Regions from separate parts of the Homo sapiens genome. Here region 1 is linked to region 2. Evidence: promoter capture Hi-C in human tissues and cell types (Jung and others, 2019). All regions are on one chromosome and are shown on one strand. The core of a region is centred on a gene start or on the middle of the fragment in contact, and the rest is flanking DNA. Distances in the headings are between cores, read along the strand shown. Region 1 overlaps MACROD2 (mono-ADP ribosylhydrolase 2). Region 2 holds the start of OTOR (otoraplin).

Region 1 (3,809 bases), core at 571-3,070, 1.9 Mb before region 2:
TTGGGTAAAACTTATATTTGGAAGAGGAGAACTGATTTTTGGATATTAGGAAAAAGAGAGCCCCCTCCCCAACTTCACCAACACTGCTGAATTCCGATTATAGGTATAAGCAGGAATTTTCTAAAATTTTAGATTAGGTTTTACCAGAAATTCTCAATATTCTACTGCTGAATCTTTAAACTACCAGACACCTTTTGCTCTCCATTTTCTCAAATTGGAAAGGGGTGATGAAAATGGTAAAATGTCTCTTCCCTCTTCCTTTGTTCTCAGGGATGTTTGTTACTCATCCTTCTACTTGCAGCTAGTATATAAAACATCTTTTAGAGTCTCCATGTCTTTTTTTTTTTTTTCTTTTTTGAGATGGAGTTTCACTCTTGTTGCCCAGGCTGGAGTGCAGTGGTACTATCTCCGCTCACTGCAACCTCTGCCTCCCAGGTTCAAGCAATTCTCCTGCCTCAGCCTCCCAAGTAGCTGGGACTACAGGTGCCTGCCACCATGGCTGGCTAATTTTTGTATTTTTACTAGAGACGGGGTTTCGCCATGTTGGCCAGGCTGGTCTTGAGCTCCTGGCCTCTAGTGATCTGTCCATCTCAGACTCCCAAAGTGCTGGGATTACAAGCGTGAGCCATCACGCCTGGCCAGAATCTCCATCTTAAACTGGCTTCCTGAAAGAGTAAATTGATCAAGCTTAAAATAATTTTCTGCTGTTCTTTTTTTCCAGTAGGGACAAGGTCTTGCCATGTTGCCCAGGCTGGTCTTGGGCTCTTGGACTCAAGCAATCCTCCCACCTCAGCCTCTCAAAGTGCTAGGATTACAGGCCTGAGCCCCCATGCCCAGTCTCCTGGTGTTCTTGGAGGGTTTTCCTCTGTAGGTACTTGTTCATTTGTGTCCAGAGAGACTTGGGAGACTATAATCAATACTCTTATCAGCCAGAACAACATACATTAAAACTAAAAGAAAAAGAGGAAGGTTGAGTTAAACTGGCCCTAAAAATATTGATGTTCTCTCATTGGAAAGGTTGACAGGTTCTTTCAAGGAAAGGTCATTTCAGGAACATAAGAAGTCTTTTTCACTTTACTCTTTGCTCTTATCTGAAAGCTCATCACAGTGTTCTATAATATTTTATCATGATTCTGATAGGTTTCAGGATGAAAAATGGAATTTGGCTTAAAGAGTGCAGGGCTAGTATGAGGACACTGCACTCTGAAATAAGTCAGAGTGATTTGTCTTCATCAGATGTTCCATAATAATACTTAACTTTTACTGTATGACGTGAAACGAGTGTTATTATTTCAAAAAATGTATTTGTAAATTTCAGGTCAAAACTAAGAATAACTCTAAGAGTGTAAAAAATAACATATTTTAATGTTAAATTTTTTTATTGCTTACACTCTAAATATTTTCCTTTGACCAATATGAGAAATATTCCCATTGATATCTCTGTGCATTTAAACAATTGTGAAAATAGAGAACTCAGTTATAGTTAAATGACTGATGTTCTATAAGATAACTTTATCACATAGATAAAATAATGAAGAAAAGAAATTAAATAGGCATTCCTCTGAGAGTTTCTCTGACAATCAAATCAGAGGTTTTGATTGAAAAATTCCCTCATTAATGTAGATTGAGTGAATGAACTAATTACTTTGTAATTTGTTCTAATAGAAACTTTCCACTGAGGTGAGGGGCAAGGGGAAACCCCACCGTCTTCACTGTCATGGAAAAGATAAAGAAGTAATGGATCTTTGAAATATTTCCCCTAACTTTCAAAACCTTAGCTTACAGTGTTGGAGACTACCTGAGATTACCTTTCAAGTAGATGTTTTCAGGAAAAAAAAAAGAATATAGAAAGGCAGCCCTTGCCACATACAATGTATTTGAATGACACTACAATGCAGCTTTTGTAGGTGATCAGATAGAAGTGTCTTGCTGTTCTATTGTATTTCAGCTTGAATATCCTTCATCAAGGCAGTTACTGCAAAACAATGTTGTAAATGAAAGTTAAAATGACATTATTATAAGTAAACTTGAGTTTTCTTTTATTACCTGTCATTTATAAGGTGGTAATGCACCACGAAAGGAATTGCATATTTTGGGTAATAAAGAAATATTCTATGACCTTGGTATTACTTATACTAAGATTGGTTTTAAGACTTTTATTTTGGGTACTATAGAGTAGAGACCATGTCATTCCCCCTTTCCTACCCCATTTAGACATTAAGACATTCTTAGTGATTTTTTTATAAGTACCTGTCTTCATCCATTTTCTGCTGCTGTATAACAGAATACCACCAACTAGGTAACTTACAAAGAAAAGAGGTTTTTTGTTTGTTTGTTTGTTTGTTTATTCACGAGTCTAGAGGCTGGGAAGTCCAAAATTAAAGGGCTGCATCTGGTGAGTGCCTTCTTGCTGCATCATGGCATGATTGAAGGCATCGCATGGCGAGACCGACCGTTCTCTAGAGAGAGGAAATGTGGCCTAACTCCCTTCTTTTATAACTGTCCCACTTCTGCAATAATAAACCCACTCTCATGATAACAGCCTTCATCCATTCAGGAGGGTGCTGCCCCCTGACCTAATCACCTCTTAGAGGTCCCACCTCTCAAGATCACAATGGCAATTAAATTTCAACATGAATTTTGGAGGGGACATTCAAACCATAGCAGTACCTTTTTTCTGAAGTCTCCCCAGAGCAGTAATCTTTAGTCCTGAATATTTCACTGAAACACTTACATGTAGAGGTATTTTCTTAAAATTGAGACCTGTCTTTATTAAAAATTATTTATAGTGATACTCTTTTCTGTTCTGTTTACAGTATATCTGAGGAAATATAAAGTGTATGCTATTAGGCTTTGTAATGTCTTATTATTAAGGCAGATATAATAGCTTTAAAGAGAACACTGATGGATAGCTTTTTAGACTCAAAGCAGATATTTGTGTGCGATTAAAGTAGAAAATGATACCCTACAATTGTTGAGACATTTTTGATGTTCTTTGGCTTTCCACACTGATCTTTTTCTATCTCTACAGTTAGTTTGGTTTTGGATTAATGTTTTTCATTCAGATATAGGAAATCAGTAGCACTTGAAATGCCATCCATAGTACACTGAAGTCTTCAGTGAAACAACAGAGTCCAATATTCAATCAGAAAAGAAAATGAACTCTAGGAGTCATTTCCAGGAGACATGTCTGAAGTCAAACTTGGGCTTTATTTCCTGTCTTCAGAGGGTGCACTTTCATAGTTGTTTTCTATAAGGTTCAAATCCCAGAGTGTATGTGCCACTCTCTCTCCATTTATACCATAAACAAAAATTCAGGTCTTTATCATTTCACACCCTGGCTGTCAATGTGGCTGTCTCTCCAGCTTCTGGTCTGCTAGCTCCCCTTCTACCATCCCCAACTCTTATTCCCTGGCTTAATTTTTATAAAACAACTATCTGATCATCTCATTTCATGTTCATTAACTTTTTTTTTTTTTTTTTTTGCTGCCTCTAGGATATAATGTCTAGGCTCTTTGTGTTATGACTGGGGCTAGGAAAGAAAGCCATTATCTAACTGAATGGCCTCTGAAGGAAATATTAGAGCTTTTCTATAAATTTATTTTTCTCATCCTTCTAAATCTGCATGTTTGTATATATTTTATTATATATATATACTTTACCCATACAGTAGTATATGCATATAATTGATGAATAAAAATACATATCTTGGGATATGCTCAAAATACATTTTACTAAGAGAATGCATACATGTGGCAGTTATAGATTATTAATGTCACTTTATTTTTCTCTTCTTACTTTTCCACTAG
Region 2 (3,569 bases), core at 707-3,206:
AGATTGATTACAGGGGAAAAATTGGAAAGGCATTCTGCTTTCAAAAATAATATCGAATTCAATCTTTCCTTGATGTGAAACAGGAAATAAATGATTTATTCTAATTTGTCAATTCCAAGTTGACAACAATGAATTGAAATAGCATTGAACCATGATCCCTCTGGTAACCTTTAGATAGGATGGTTCAAAATGACCACTTTAGGACAGGTGCGGTGGCTCATGCCTGTAATCCCAGCATTCTGGGAGGCTGAGGAGGGCGGATCACTTGAGGTCAGGAGTTTGAGACCAGGCTGGCCAATATGGTGAAACCCCGTCTCTACTAAAAATACAAAAATTAGCTGGGCATGGTGGTGCACACCTGCCAGCCCAGCTACTTGGGAGGCTGAGGCAGCAGAATTGCTTGAACCCTGGAGACAGAGGGTGCAGTGAGCCGAGATTGCACCAGTGCACTCCATCCTGGGTGACAGAGCAATACTCCATCTCGGAAAAAAAAAAAAAAAAAAAAAGCAACAAAAAACAAAAAGACCACTCTGGCATTTGCTGTGCCTCAGTTTCCTTGTCTATAATGAAGGTATGAATAAAACAGACTTTCCAATCAGGACCAGCTATATAAAAGATCCTCCCTTGAAAGTCACACACACATACACACACAGCCACACACACACACTCACACACAGCCACACATACCCACACCCATACCCACACCAAAACTCTTTTACATACACACACAGATGCACTCAAACCAATACAACTCTATCACACACACACATATACCCAAAACAAAAAACCTTTTTATTATATTTTGCCTTACCCATTTATCCCTTGGGAAATTGTATTGCACAAAATTATTTAGTAAGTTAAATTCTTGTCCCTCATTTTATGAGGTTACGACTTTGGGGTTGGGGGAGAAGGCACTGCTCCGAAGTCACATCATCAACCAAGGTGGAGAAGGCATCCTGAGAGGATCTCTATTCTAGAAGCAATGGATAAGAACAGGGGAAGGGCCACCTTATGGGAGAGATGCCAGCCTCAAACACCCTATAAAAAGCAGTAACTTACTGTCTGTCTCTTCTAATAGAAAGCAACACTTGGGGCCAAAATATTTTTTTTAAATTTACTGCTATATCTTTAGTGCCCAGAACTATACCTGGCACAGTAAGTGCTCAGTAAATATTTGCTGAATAGACGGAGCTAGGGACTGGCGGTTCCACTTTGGTGCCTCTAGGAGTGCTCCTCTCCCCATGGGAAACATGCTCAGAAGCAGGAAGTTCCAGGTAACATAAACTTGTAACTTCACTCTCTTCTCTTTGACCTGTCACCCTTGAGCATTTGAGACTGAATTGCAAAAGTCTTAGAGAGAAGAGGTAGGGGAAAGATTGACCTATTTTTCCCAACCCACCCATCTCTTTCCCCACTGGTAGGGTCTAAATGGGGCATCAATTAGTATGTTAGAATTCATCTCTAGCCTGGGACAGGCATGCCTTCTAAGAATCCTATCATGAAAGATTTGTAAGCATAAGAATCTTTCATTTATCTATTACGTAAATCCAGATTTATTAATTGAATTTGTTTAAATCAAATTATTTGTGCTATAGATCTCACATTTTCAACAAATTCCTACAACTAGTATGTCTTTGCTCATAAGCTGAAGGAAAATTAGGGGTGAATTAAAACTAAAAATGGTTTGAAATTCTCATAGTCCTCTCAGCAAAGCCCTACTGATTGATACAATAGACCACTGCTAAAGCGGCTTTAACAATAGTGGACCATTTTGGATATTATCTGTGTATAGAAAGACACAGAGTTTGACTCTGTTTGGAAAATCAGACGCTAAATAGCCCCTGAAGCCGAGCAGCCTGTTATGAAAACGGAGGGGTGGTAGGCCCTTCTAATTGGCCAGGGTATTTACCCAGAGCTCTGGCTTTCACATAAAAGGCAGGAACCACTGAAGTCAGTCCCCGCTTCCAGTCAGAGTTCAAGTTAAAACAGAAAAAAGGAAGATGGCAAGAATATTGTTACTTTTCCTCCCGGGTCTTGTGGCTGTATGTGCTGTGCATGGAATATTTATGGACCGTCTAGCTTCCAAGAAGCTCTGTGCAGATGATGAGTGTGTCTGTAAGGACTTTTTTATGCTTTTCATTATCTTTCTATTACATAATTGAAAATATATCCACTAATAGCATAAAATCGAATTATACTTTGAAGTGAATCTTCTCCAATGTGTATGTTATCAGCTTTGTTTCTTCTGGTCTGCATGTTTGGTATCTTACTACGGAGAATTCACTTGGCTGAGTTTTGTTGCAGCTTTAATATCTTGGCTGTCTTCTTTCTCTTGGATAGACACCAGCTATGAACTGGGAATTATCAGTCACTCTGATTTTCTAGTTTTTCTAATATACATTGCCTTTTACTGTTATAAAATTCAGGAGCCTAAAATGTAATCATTTAAATTTTTTTTCTTCCAGATACTATTTCTCTGGCTAGTGCTCAAGAAGATTATAATGCCCCGGACTGTAGATTCATTAACGTTAAAAAAGGGCAGCAGATCTATGTGTACTCAAAGCTGGTAAAAGAAAATGGAGCTGGAGAATTTTGGGCTGGCAGTGTAAGATAATTTAAACACCTATTGACGAATATTGCTCTTAACCTTTCCTTGATTACCTACCTTCAACCTATTTTAATGCTTAATACTAGTTGTTAAGAACCATGTAGTGATTGTAGATGGAAATGCAAAAATTCAGGTATATTTGCTATTGCATTTTAAAGAAAGAAAGATCAATTTCGTAACAAAACCAAATGTAGGTTAATGTGATATTTTGGTAAAAAAAGAGTCAAATACATGGGGGCTTAAACATCCCAAAGAATTTGAATCTTATCCGAAAACGTCTGAGAAGATTTGCCAAGTAGAAGGCATGTGTGTTGGCAGTGAGTCTAAGTATCAATATTCTTTTAGGAAACTTTGCACCCTAATTAATTCGAAAGAATCAGCGTTCTTCAGTTAAAATATACAGGGGCGGTCCCTGGGGAGGGATGAAGCAGGGATGATTTTCTGTCCTCATCTGCAACCCTAAAGGTAAGTTCTAAATTAATGAAGGATTAAATTTAAAGCCATTTAAGTCTGTTCATTTGAATTGTTGAAAACTGAGAAATTTGCATCATTTAAAATAAGTGTCTACAGTACTTTAAAAAAATGTACTGTCTTTATATATTTATTTATGGGTTCAAAAAAGATTTCAGGCAACTCACAAGATTGCGTAAAATAAAGTCATGCTAAAGTAGCGAAATAAGACTGGGCCACTAAACAGTAGATGCACAATTCCTGCGGGTTAACTTAGTGCTCCAAGTAAACTTCGGATTTGCCGCAGCGCCCCCTGGACCCCGGAGTGAAAGGGAGGTATTGGCAGCTATGATTCTCACTATCAGCAAAGAGGACGCCTGCGAGTTTCTCAGAAGACACTCAGCATCAGCTTTTTCCTGATTGCTATTCTTCTGGGCACTTAGGTTTATGGTGATGGCCAGGACGAGATGGGAGTCGTGGGTTATTTCCCCAGGAACTTGGTCAAGGAACA

The links. Contacts are between HindIII fragments. The study calls those that stand out against the background at their distance.
Region 1: a fragment that was not itself captured here is called in contact with the fragment with the promoter of OTOR in region 2 in 1 of the 25 tissues and cell types used here (lymphoblastoid cells).

Annotation. Positions count from the first base shown.
Region 1 is chr20:14,839,698-14,843,506 of GRCh38, forward strand. All of the region lies in intron 5 of MACROD2 (mono-ADP ribosylhydrolase 2), which reads left to right. Among named protein-coding and RNA genes, the nearest start is that of MACROD2-AS1, 88 kb to the right of the region's middle. The HindIII fragment of the contact is 7,476 bases long and covers 1-3,809 here.
Region 2 is chr20:16,746,402-16,749,970 of GRCh38, forward strand. It overlaps OTOR (otoraplin), which reads left to right and starts at 1,957. Exons shown (of 4, transcript NM_020157.4): 1 at 1,957-2,115; 2 at 2,466-2,605; 3 at 3,502-3,569. The coding sequence starts at 2,001. The HindIII fragment of the contact is 9,309 bases long and covers 1-3,569 here.